Linked DNA regions of Homo sapiens: regions 2 and 3 are each linked to region 1. The links are contacts of gene promoters, found by promoter capture Hi-C in blood cells and fetal thymus (Javierre and others, 2016). All regions are on one chromosome and are shown on one strand. The core of a region is centred on a gene start or on the middle of the fragment in contact, and the rest is flanking DNA. Distances in the headings are between cores, read along the strand shown. Region 1 holds the start of KCNG1 (potassium voltage-gated channel modifier subfamily G member 1). Region 2 has its middle 51 kb from the start of NFATC2. Region 3 holds the start of SALL4 (spalt like transcription factor 4).

Region 1 (4,199 bases), core at 542-3,041:
TCCCATCTTGCCAGATGGGCTCCTTCTGGCTCAGGGCTCCATGTAACCATCACCTCCACAGGAGCCCTCCCCCATTATTCTATCTAAAGTGGCCTCTCTGGCTTCATTCTGCAATCACGTATTTCAGCAGTTTCCCAATTCTGCCAAGCCCCCAGTAGAAGGTGAGCTCTTGGAAACAGGTCCTTAGGCAGATCCTTGTCTGTCCAGGCCTCCACCTCACCAGTAAGCCAGTGTTTTTATTCTTGTTGTTTTAGAGGCTGGATCTCGCTCAGTCACGCAGGCTGGATTGCAGTGGTGCCATCATAGTGCACTATAACCTGGAACTCCTATGCTCCACCCGGCTGGGACTGCCGCGCAGGCTAGTGTGCCCTGCGCTCATTTCTTAGGGTTAACCCTAACCCACTTAATGAGCACCCACGACTCCCCAACCCGAGCCCCACTCAAGCAGAAGGCCTCAGGCTGGTCGGCAGCAGGGTTTCTTCATGTCCTTTCTTGGTTCTCTGATGATAGGCAAAGGCAGTAGAGACAGAAAGGAAAAGAGGAACGGAGTGCAAGAGACAGAAAGGAGAAGAGGAACGGAGTGCAAGAGACAGAAAGGAGAAGAGGAACGGAGTGCAAGGCAAGCCACCCTAAGAGGCCAGCCCTGCCAGCAGCACAGATCCCTCCAAACCAATAGGTCCCTCCAACTCAGTAGATTCCTCCAACCCAATAGATCCCTCCAACCCAACCTCCAGCATCTGTGCAGCATCCTACCAACTCCGAGGCTAGGCGGCCACACTGGGAGCAAGACCCCAGGACCTGGTCCAAGTGCCCTGCACCGGCCAGGGGAGTGGACGACGAAGTGCGGCTCTGCTAGCCCGGGAGGGCTCTGGGGCCTCGGCCCCGCGGGACTGGAAGGGAAAACACCTGGCACGGTACGTACTGGCCCTAGGAATTTGGCACAGCAAGATGCTGGCAGTCCCTGGGTGGCGGTGGCAGGAAGGGCCCAAGGGCAACATTGGTCTAGGAGGTCGAGAAAAGGCGCGCGATATATGGCCCCCAGGATGTGGAAGCTTGCTTGGAGCGTTCGGCTCCAGGGCAGCAGCGCGTGGAGGGCCTCAAGGATGCAGTATTTGCCCGGGGTAGGGGGGCGAGGGACCCAGAGGCAGCAGTGCACTTGGACTTCCAGGACTTCCAGGGAAAGGCAGGAGACATGGCGCATGTGGTTCCCAGGATGTGTAAGCGCGTGGAGCGCGGCCCCGGGGCAGCGGAGAGTGGGGTTTTAATATCTAGCACATGTAGACCCTGGGGCGGTGCTGCTAGGGGCGCGGACCCGGGACCACCGGAGCACTTGCACCGCGGGGAAAGCTGACAGGGCGCGCGACCCTAGGAGGCTGCCGCGCCGCCTGGTGCGTGAAGCTCCAGGGCAGCGGAGCGCGGGGACCTTGAAGGCTGTCGCGTGCAGGCGAAGGGGCCGCAGGGTGGTCGCTCCTGGGAGAGCAGACGGGGAAGAAGGCAACGGGAGGGAGGGCGTAGCGCGAGCAGTCCCGGACGCGGGCTCAGGAACTGGCCGCGAGGAGCGCAATCCAGCAGGCGCGCCAGGGCCCCCGGATCCAAGGTGCGGGGTCCCGATTGGGCGCCTGGACGCCCCGTGACGGTGGCGCCGCTGCCACTGTCCCGAAGCGAGGCGAGGCCAGGCGCTGCGCTTTCGGCTGCCCGCCCCTTCTCCCCGCCCCGCGCTCAGTCCCCTCCCTCCGTCCCGCCTCCTGCCTCGCTCCCTCCCTCGGCGGCTGCTGCGCCGCGCTCCCGGCGCACTCGGAGCCCGGCGGGGACCGGGAGGCAGAGACGGGGCGGCCGTGGCTCCGAGGGCGGGAGCTGAGCCGGGCCCCGGGACCGAAGTTTGGCGGCGGCTCCGGGAGGCAGAGCGGGCTCCCCGGGCGACTTCCAGGCCCCTCTCGCGTCCTCGCCCCGGACCCGTGGGCAGCCGGGGGGAACGGAAGCCGCGGCCGGGCCAACTCCGAGGCGGGGACGCCGCGACGGGAACTTGAGGTGGGAACTTTGCGCGCTGCAGCCTCGCCGGGCGCCACCGAAGCGCGAACCGGACCCCGAGCCTGCAAACTCGGGCTCGGGGGCGGCTGCACGTGGCCGTGGCCCTGAACTCCCTGCGGGGGCCTCGAAACCCGCCTGCGGGGAGGCCAGGGCGACAGAGGACTCGGGAGTCACCGCTGGTGCGTGGCGGCGTGGAGCGCGCTTGTTACGGCCAAGGTGCGGGTCCGGCTTCGGTTCATCCCAAGGGGTCACCGGGATGCGAAGTCCGGGACGTTCGCCGCCGCGGTGACCCCGGCGGGGGCGCATCCCGGCTGTGGGCCGAGGTTTCTCCCCCGATCCTGGGAGGAAGGAGAGTTAGGGATTGGGGTGGGGGAGTGTGTGTCACTTGCTCATTCACTGTATCCTTAGGCACAGTATGGAGCCCCCCTTCACCCCCACCGTGGGCCTGATTGAGTCATTCATTATGAACACAGCAAGCGTTTATTGAGCGCCTACTGTGTGCTAGGCACTGGGGATACTGAGACAGTTCACTGGGCACCCCCAGGAACTGGTAGGAAGGTGGTGGTCTCAGCCTTAGGGTTTCCATGTGGGAGAGAGGCTCAGCCCGGAGGTATGGAAGGAAAAGGGTGAAGTTCATTCATTCATTCATAGATTGGACAAAGATTGGTTGAGCACCTATTGTAAGCAGCTCATCATACCAAGCGCTCAACAGTCATTCATCCAGTTCACAAACATTTATGGAGGCGCTATGCTGGGGAGAAGTGAAGAGGGATGGAATGGGGGCACCCTTCATGCAGCTTAGAGAGAAGTAAGGATTAAGACCCAGGCCCCCGCTTGGGAGGCCGCAGACTGCCGGGGTGGCCAACTGTAGCAGCCCATGTATATAGGCAGAAGTCTTGGTTCATCTAATGCATTCCTTCTCAAGGTGGGAGGTGTGGAAGCTGGAATTGGTTCTAGAATAGGAAGAAAAGATCTTTTCAAAGCTCCTTAGGGGCGGGTGATGGGGTAGGGTGGGGAGGAGTTGAGAAACACTGATCCGACATTACTGAGGAATGCAGGTTCCCACCAATGGGGTTTATGAGTTAGGTTGTCCATTCAGCAGGCATTTTCTTAAGCACTCGCTGTTATTAAGCACTTAAAGGGTGCCAGGCACCAAAGTTACCCAGGTAAATGACAGACACATAGAAGAGGGAGACAGACACAGACGCCCCCACCCCCTTTGCTGACTCCCTGAGATAAGTACAGGGGGAAGTAAGAGGAGGGAGCAGGAACTGGTCTGATTCATTGTGGGGTGGGGGAAGTTCCTGCCCTATGAATCTGAGCAGAGGTTTATTCATTAGTGTGTGTTTGATACCCCCATACCCATGATGGCAGAGTCCCTATGAAGAGCCTCACCGGCAGCACATCTCCAAGAAAAGTTTGGCACTGCTGATTGGGGCCTTGCGGTCGGCACTGTGGCTAGGGCATGCTGTCCTTCTTTGGGGGATTTTTCAGGCTCTGCCAGACCTGAGCTCTATTTGTGCCTCCCCCGGCTTTTGGAGCCCTGCAGAGTCGCCTGATAGGAGGGGAAGGAGGGAAGGTGTGTTTGAAAAACAGGCAAGCGCTGGCCCCTGGGGATCACCCTCCTCAGTCATTCTCGAAGCCAGCCCGTTCCACGGGAAAGATGTCTGTCCTGGGACACACTCCTAACCTGCAGGGAACTGCAAGCACACTGGAAACGAGGCAACCTAGGTTCTTCTCCTGAGACTTGAGAGCCCAGGCCCGCAGCCTACAGCCTGGGTTGTCAAACCTTGGGAGTAAAAAAATCAACCAAACCCCTAGTTTTGCCAAACTCTGGGTTGCCTTTTTGGCCTCTGGGAGGGAGATGTGACATGGGAGGCAGAGGTTACTTGCTTCTCCCCATCCCCAAAGACTTTCCCGAAGCTTGTCCTGGAGCCTGATTGGGGCAGATCTGAGCACCACTTTGAATTCTCTGCACCAGACCCACAGCTGGGCTCTGGCAAGAGGTGAGGGAGGTGCCTCAGGAAACAGAAGAACAAAGAGATGTGTGCTGGATGCAGGGCTAAGCGACGCAAACCAGCTCCGAGGAACTCACCTCCTGGAGCCGCAGTAGGTACCTTGGCTCGGCTGTCCTTTCTCCACCCTGCTTTCCAATGTTGATGAAGAGTCAA
Region 2 (4,179 bases), core at 755-3,254, 570 kb before region 1:
AAAAAATACAAGAAAACGAGCTGGGTGTACTGGCTCAAGCCTGTGGTCCCAGCGACTTGGGAAGCTGAGGCGGAACAATCACCTGAGCCTCGGAGGTCGAGGCTGCAGTGAGTCGTGATTGTGCCACTGCACTCCTGCCTGGGCAACAGAGCAAGACTCCGTCTCAAAACAAAACAAAACAAAAAAAGCTTTTGTGTAGGAAGTAGTTGAAATCAATTGGGTGATTTTTGTCCCTTGGGGGACACGTGGCGGTATGAAGACCTTTTCAGTTGTTACAACTCGGGGAAGAGGAGTGCTACAAGCAAGAGATGCTGCCGAACACCCTGTGATTCACAGGGTGGCCCCCACAACAGAGCCCAAAGTGTCAAAAGTGCCAACATTGAGAAACCCTAATTATTTTTTTTCGAGGTGGAGTCTTGCCCTGTTATCTAGGCTGCAATGCAGTGGTGCAATCTTGGCTCACTGCAACCTCCGCCTCCCAGGTTCAGGCGATTCTCCTGCCTCAGCCTTCTGAGTAGCTGGGCCTGCCACCACGCCCGGTTAAGTTTTGTATCTTTAGTAGAGACGGGGTTTCACCATGTTGGCCAGGCTGGTCTCGAACTCCAGGCCTCAGGTGATCTGCCTGCCTCAGCCTCCCAAAGTGCTGGGATTACAGGCATGAGCCCATACGCCCAGCCAGAGAAACCCTAATTTAATTGGCACGTGTCAGCTGTACCATTTGTCTGTCTGTATTTGTAAAAGGGCCCGGAGGTATAAGCTCGTGTGTCTCAGGAAGCAAGTTATGCCTCCGCCTACTATACCAAATACTATACCAAATGGTGTAATTAGTGGCTGTCTGCAGTGTGAGCTGCTGGTTCCCTCTTTTTGGTTCTCAATGGAAAGGGCCATCCTCAGTATATAGATTAGAAAGATAATTGTAACTTAGTTGTGTTATCTCATGACAGCAGCAAAAGGAAGGTATGTGGTTTCAAAGGTAGGGACCGACCATGCTTTCCCTTAAACGTGTGCTATCCCTGCACGACCTTAAGCCTCTGCATTTGCCTGCAGTGAACTTCCGTCCATGTGCGGACACTCCTCCGCCGGAGCCGCTAGGGGGAACTTGAGGACTGAAAGACATTGCTGTTTCCTGTTTTCCACAACCAGCCGGACCCCACGTGCCCAACTGCCCTGAGTTTCAAGACTGTGCTTTCATAGCTTCAGAATTTATTTCATGGCCAGAGGCTCCGTGAAAAACAGACATTTCTTTTCATGTTGTTGACCAGAATATTTTGCTGGACTTAGTTAAAAAAAAAAAAAAGGAAAAAAAAAAGGCAGGGAGGGTGAGAGATGAATATTTATTTGCTCTTGGATATTTGCATTTTTGAATAATTGGCAAGTAGGAAGCTTTGCCAATTCACTGTTCAGTCTAATAAGGTTTTGAGACGAAATGTACCAACACCCCAAGTACTTTTAGTGTTTTTGTTATGAAACTTTTCAGGGTGACATGAAGCCCTGTGGTATTTGTGAGGAGGTCTATAAATGATGGATTTGCTCACCTCAAAATAGAACTGTAGTCGCTCCAAATTTTCCAGAAGTGGGAGCACAGTGACAGAATTCATTCAGGACTTGCTAATTTCCTACTTTAAATGGGTTACATAACAGAACCGGTCCCGCCTTCGCGCCTCTCAAAACTACCCATGAAGTGATGGTGAAATGTATCATTAAAAGCTAGAAATAGCTCTGCTAAACTCTGGGAAAAAGATGAATTTTTTTCTGATCTCCCTCTCCCCACCCCCCTTTTTTCACCCAAACATTGCATAATGTTAAAAAAGTCAAATCTTTCCGTGGGATTTAATTTCATTTTCCATGTGGCTGTGGTCGGAGGGGTAACTCAAGCACTTTGGGGGCTGGTGGATTTTTGGAGGATCACGCATTCCCGGATCAGTTTGCATCCAAAGCCTTAGCCGAGAAATACACCCAATCCTGGGGTTTCTCCCCATCCCTCCTGCCCCCCTTTTGTGGATGAGTTATCTATAACATAGCATCTTTTCAGAAAGCCTGCCTTCTTGCAGGAATGCCCAAACAAAGCCACCCTCCACTTTCCATGTTGACGTTTTGATTTTGAAATGGATTCCCCCTGAAATTTGGGGTAACTGAGTCACATGTGAAGTCATCGGCCCCACAACCTATGCTTGATACCAAGCCAGGGCTCATTTCTTAGAATTCAGCCAGCAGGTTCTGTTTGCTTACATTAAGAACTTGGTGTTCTAAGCCTGTGGTGTTTGTTTTCAAGAGATTTAAAAGAAATACATTTTTTTTCTTTGATCAGATCAGGTCCAGATAAGCCCAGGACTATTTTTTATTTCCTTTGAGAAAGATTGCAGAGTCCAGAAGGAATGGAAAAAGTGTTGGGGGATGGGTAGGAGATGTGCAGAATATGCTGACATTTTTATTCCTTCATTGATCAAATATTTGCTGAGCACTTCCTATGTGTTAGGCACTGTTCTTGGGGCTGGAGGCGTGGCAGGGAACCAGACAAGCGTAGTGTCTGCCCTCATAGTGATTACACTCTGTGTGTGTGTGTGTGTATGTGTGTGAAAGACAATAAACAGATTAAGACTAACATCAGGTGGAGAGAAAGCTTCCTAAGATAAAGCAGCCTAAGGGTTAGGCAGAGGATGACAACCAGGTAGGAATAAAGGTGGGGAAAGTGCTGGGAGTCAGAGATGGGCCCACTGGAGCAGAGGGCTGCAGGATGAGAAGGAGGGTGCTGTGCACCTCTGGACCCTGTAAGAGCAGAAGCTGGTAGTGATGCCCCCCAACCTATCCATGTGGGTGCCAGCCACACCGTCCCCCTCAATTTTCTCATGCCTTGTGGGGTTTTTTTTTTTAATCTCAAGGAAATTCTGCTTTCTATTCCATTAGTGGATTTAATGTAAAAAAAAAAGTTTTTAATGATTGGCCAATTCTATTCTCCAAGATCCCCAAGTAAATGGATTCTTTTTTTTTTTTTTTTTTTTGAGACAGAGTCTTGCATTGTCACCCAGGCTGGAGTGCAGTGGCACGATCTTGGGTCACTGCAACCTCTGCCTCCCAGGTTCAAGCAATTCTCCTGCTTCAACCTCCCGAGTAGCTGGGATTACAGGCACGTGCCACCACACCTGGCTAATTTTGGTATTTTTAGTAGAGGCGGGGTTTCACCATGTTGGCCAGGCTGGTCTCAAACTCCTGATCTCAAGTGATCTGCCTGCCTTGGCCTCCCGAAGTGTTGGAATTACAGGCATGAGCCACCGTGCCCAGCCAGTCAATGGATTCTTGAGGAGTCCCTTTGCTTTCTCCTTGGGCTGCCCCATGAGGGGTATGTTCTCTAGTCAGGGATGCCCAGGCCAGCCTAGCATACTGGGGGGAGGTTCATTTCTAACTTTGAACAATGGCTAAGGCCACAGGACCCTGGGCAAGTTTGCAAAGGCAGAGCGTCATTCAGAGAGATCTGGGGAAGTGACATTGTGGTTGCAGTGTGTGCAAAGGCCCCGGGGTAGGAAAGGCTGGGCATGTCGGAGGGGCACAGGGCTGGAGTGCTGAGACCGAGGGGGTGGGGCATGGAGGAGGTGAGGTCAGGGAGATAGGGAGGGCCTGCAGACCTTGGCATTCGGACTAAAGAGTCCGTTGCAGAACGAGCAAGCATTATTAAAGTTAGCCCTCTACACTGAACCATGTTCGAGGGCCCCTTTCACTCCTTCTCTTCTACCCCGCCTCACCGACCCTTTCCCACCTGTTCTCATTTCTGCGTCTATGTCCGAGGAGGCTCAGGTGCAACCCTTTCCATTGGAACCAACCCACTCCCATGCCCAGTGGTTCTGCATGACTTTATTGACATAACCACACTAGTAAATAAAGGAGAGAAGAAGCCAGTCCTTGGATGAAGTTTCCTCTTGCTTTTCCAGCGAATGATACGATGGGTCTCTGTTCAGCCCTGTAGCCTGGGGTGCTTTTGGCAGAGGTGCCTTTTCCTTCGACAGTCCTGGAAAGCAGGCTGCATAAACCAGCTGCCTAGAACTGGGAGGTGAGTGCGGAGGAAGAATAGGTAGAGAAAACTTAACTGGCTCATGTTCTTCGAAGCTGCCACATTTCCCGAATATGCCCACTTGGGTCAGATTTCGAAGGCGAAGCCTTTTGCAGTCATGAACTGCGGGAGCCCAG
Region 3 (4,106 bases), core at 1,316-3,815, 780 kb before region 1:
TAGAGATGGAGTTTTACCGTGTTGGCCAGGCTAGTCTCGAACTCCTGACCTCTGGTGACCCGCCAGTCTTGGCCTCCCAGAGTGCTGGGATTACAGGCGTGAGACACTGTGCTCAGCCTGAAACAACTTTTGATTACGGACTTGCCTGTTGCTATGCCCTCCGTTCATCCCCTGCTTTGCTCTAGGACTTACTTTATTTTCCACCAACTGGCTCCTGGCTGCAGCTGTTAAACTGGGGGTAGATTCAAAACATGTACTGTGTCCTGCTTTTCTTGATATGACATTTGTGGAAGGTTTCCATTTGAGGGAAACTTCTTGACTTCATCTGTTGGAGTGATTTCTGAAGACCCAAGATTTTTCTAGGACACTTTAAATTTAGTTTACTGTACTCCGATTTTTCTTCTTTAGCTATCTTCTCTATATTCAGCTATAGTTGGAAGACAGGTATTAGGATGTGATAGAATTTTGGAGTCAGACTTAGAAACTGACCACCGGCTTAGAAACTGACCACCAGCTCAGCCAGTTTCTAATTAAGTCACTTCATGTCTTTGAGCCTCAGTTTCAAAATGGAGAGGACAATAGGGCCAACCTCCATGGGAAGATAAAACAAGGCGGTGTGCATTCATTTAATGCAGTCTGTGGCATGTACAAGGGGCTCAATCAATTATTATTATTACTATCACTTGGAGAGTCAAGCGGCACAATTTTGTCTCGTAGTAAGGCTAACATGTTACAACTATCATCTACTAAAATAAATATAAACAACTATATAAATGAAATTTTCCTTAACCCAATAGTATTTTTTGAGCCATAAACCCACTGCACATTCGTTTAGATTTGTAAGTTAGATCTCCTGCCACACTATCTTACACAGAAAAGGTGTTGAGAATATTAGTAGATTAGTCAGCAAGGCAGGTGCTAATTGGCCTTTTTACTCAGTATCAGAATTCTAAACTGCTTCTATGTATTATTAAACCAAATTCTTACCTTTTCAATCTGGCTGTTGGCTATAATTCTGTCTTACTTGCTTTAAATATTATACATAAAATAAGGCAAGACTTTTTCAGAGACTCAAAAATTGAAGGTTAATCTTCCTTCAACAAGTTTTTACTGATGGCCACGAATATAAAAAAGATGATCAAGCTGATTTATTTTCTGCCTTGGGTTGTCCAAATACCCAGGTGAACACATTGATGAGCCCAGCATTCCATTTTGCTTGTATTCCTGATGAGTTTACAAGCTGGGAACGTGATGAATAACTAATCAAGAGAATGCAATGCACAAATGTGGAGGGAGGGTTTATATCTGCACAGTCCCTTACAATGAAGTAAATGCCAAACAAAGACGCATGCCCAGAGCAGTTATGGAAAGACCAATCAAAGACTTAGCAGGTTGATGATTTCATCATTCATTTAACATTTATTGAGCATGTACATTGTGTAAAGCAGTTAGCCAAATTAAGTATACATGAATTTACGGTATAAATGTGTATACATGTAATATATCATATACACACACACAAGCCCCACTTTAAAAAATTCCAGGCATCATGTGTCAATGATACAATCACTTTGAACGATACACCTTTTCTGTAATAATGTGTGTATTGCACAAAAAAATTCCAATAGTGATTAGTAACAACCAGATACTGTGACAGTGCCCCATTGCCATTCCATGGGAGATGCAAGAGCATTGTCTCAGTAATAAAATATGATGTTATCAGGCATTTATGGCTCCTGGGGAAAAAAATGCAATTGCTTGCTGTTTTGATATTATCTCTGACTATGCTTGCTTATCATTTGCCATTTCTATATTTAGTAGCCAGTCATTTTGAAGTTAAAAAAAAATCAAGGTTTGCATTGTAACCACAAACCAGTCTTTGTGAACAGGAATCCTGGAGGCTATTAATCAGCTTTTAAAGGAGGTAAGTCATGGTGGTGGTGGGGTATCTGAAATTTTGGAAGTTCCGAGCTCACTTTAAGAGTTGAGATGGGTGGGAGGGCTGAAAACACCACCATTCATCATTCTTCAGTTATCTCGAGACTCAACTTAAACATTTTTAATCAAAAAGATGGGAGGGGACACGGGTCACATCTCAGGTTTGGGGGAATGTGTGTGCGTGTAGATGTGAAAACTGAGCCAAAATATTCCACTGTGAAGAGATCTCCCTTCTCGGCTGGTGGACATCAACCTTACCAAGTAATCTTTGGAGCAAGTAACTACCAAATAAAGCCGTTCCAAAACTTCTACGTAAGCTCCTACTTTTTAATGAGTACGCATTTCTCCCCATTTTCTTTTCCTCTCCAAGGACTGAGATAGCTGGAGCAAGGATGGGTCCCCCTCTGATTTCGTCCCCGCCCCAGCCAATCTGAGCCCGGATGCTAATTAGCTGCGCTCCCCTGATGAACACGCCTTTGTCACAAGTAGGCCCGGACTACAAAGCCCAGAATGCCTCACCCCTCCCTGATCAATGAGGGCTTATTTAAATGATCTCTGAGGTCTTGGACCCAGGCCAATCAGCTGTCAGGGCTCATGATAAATCGCAATGCATTATTGATAATAATAATTACTGGGACATGCGCGTTCCGGCCGAAGGGGGGTAAATTTCCCAACTCCAGGAATTTGTGGCGGAGAGGGCAAATAACTGCGGCTCTCCCGGCGCCCCGATGCTCGCACCATGTCGAGGCGCAAGCAGGCGAAACCCCAGCACATCAACTCGGAGGAGGACCAGGGCGAGCAGCAGCCGCAGCAGCAGACCCCGGAGTTTGCAGATGCGGCCCCAGCGGCGCCCGCGGCGGGGGAGCTGGGTGAGTGGGGCTGGGGCGCCCGCCCGGGGAGGGGAGCTTCCCGGACGTACGCGGGATCCTCGAGGGCGCAGGCTTCGGGGAGCGGGCGGCGTCCAGCGCAAATTCAGGAGCCGAGATTTGGGGGCTCAGTGCCCGGGAGGAGAGGTCTCCTCCTCTCCCCACCACCCCGCCTTTTGCACATTTCACACTTTTTTCCTCTTCTCCCCTCTTGTGTAAGTTTCACCCCCAGCTTTCTCCCCTAATTGTAAAATTGACCCCCACTCGCTCCTCTGTTCTCGCTCCCGAAAGGTTCCCTTCTCCTTGTCCTCTGCCCCTCACTTAATTGGTTCCACTCCCCTCACTGGTGTTACCCCCCCCCCTTGTAACTTAGGTCCCCCTCCCTCGCGTCGCTCTCAAAAGAAAGAACCCCGGGGGATCCCCACCCTCTCCACCAGCCCCTTGGGGCTTTTCTTGGAGGCTGGAGGAGGGGCGCACCCCTGGAAGACCCCCCGGAGGAGGACGATCTGTTGCACGCGCCCCTCCCGGGCCAAGTGGGGGGAGGGGGCGCGACCTCTCCCCACCCTCAGGAGCTGGGGTGCGGGCCACCCGCGCTGCGCAGGGGATTGGAGGGCCCAGAGAGGTGGGGGAGGAGGGCTCAATGTTTCCCTTTAAAATTTTTTTCTTTTCTGGATTTCGCCTTTTCTGCCCGGGCTGCGCCGCCTGCCGATCTTCGCCCTAACCTTTCGGGGCCTGACCTCCAGCCATCTTTGATTTCCGACTTCCTAAAAATAACCGCGGCAAGCCCGAGGGTGCGAGCCCCCAGTGGCCGGGGTGGCGGGCGCGCGGCAGCCCCACTGGGGTGCACCGGCCTCCCGTTTTGCGTGGCTTTTCTGGAGCGCTCGGCTTTCCACATTTGCGCTTGGGTGTGAAAGGGGAGAGGTGGGGGGCCAGAGCGAACTCCCGCGGCTGACCTGGCCCACGCTTCCGCGGCCAGCGTTTCCCAGATCGAGGGGAGTTCGGGACCCCAGCCGCGCCAGGAACGGCGGGGCCAACTCTGTTCCCACTTCATCACTTCACCGCGGAGGTTTTAGGAGCGAGGCGGTTTTCCACTATCTCGTCTCCATCCCGGCCCGCCAAATTGTCGCCTGATAAGTTTTTAGCGTGCGCGTGGGGGGAGGGGGGATTTGTAGCCTCCTCTCCGGCCTTGTTCGTCGCTCCGCTCCCCGCCTGCTTTCTAATTTCCCTGCAGCAGACGGGTGTGCGCGGCAACCCCGGAGGACTCTCAGAGACCATCTCTGATACCCGGGGTTTCCCGAGAAG

Evidence for each region. The method cuts DNA at HindIII sites, captures the fragments that hold promoters and counts their contacts. A CHiCAGO score of 5 or more calls a contact.
Region 2: a contact is called between a fragment that was not itself captured here and the fragment with the promoter of KCNG1 in region 1, in 4 of 17 cell types (M0 macrophages, naive B cells, monocytes and 1 more). The highest score is 7.0, in M0 macrophages.
Region 3: the fragment with the promoter of SALL4 here is called in contact with the fragment with the promoter of KCNG1 in region 1 in 4 of 17 cell types (non-activated CD4 T cells, M0 macrophages, total CD8 T cells and 1 more); the score reaches 7.8 in non-activated CD4 T cells.

The regions. Positions count from the first base shown.
Region 1 is chr20:51,020,699-51,024,897 of GRCh38, reverse strand. KCNG1 (potassium voltage-gated channel modifier subfamily G member 1) reads left to right here and starts at 1,791. Exons shown (of 3, transcript NM_002237.4): 1 at 1,791-2,028. RefSeq lists a silencer at 1,693-1,862 and an enhancer at 3,587-4,150. The HindIII fragment of the contact is 2,899 bases long and covers 1,055-3,953 here.
Region 2 is chr20:51,592,097-51,596,275 of GRCh38, reverse strand. No RefSeq gene overlaps it. Among named protein-coding and RNA genes, the nearest start is that of NFATC2, 51 kb to the right of the region's middle. The HindIII fragment of the contact is 1,237 bases long and covers 1,386-2,622 here.
Region 3 is chr20:51,800,980-51,805,085 of GRCh38, reverse strand. It overlaps SALL4 (spalt like transcription factor 4), which reads left to right and starts at 2,565. Exons shown (of 4, transcript NM_020436.5): 1 at 2,565-2,807. The coding sequence starts at 2,678. RefSeq lists enhancers at 2,219-2,860, 3,504-4,106. The HindIII fragment of the contact is 4,794 bases long and covers 1-4,106 here.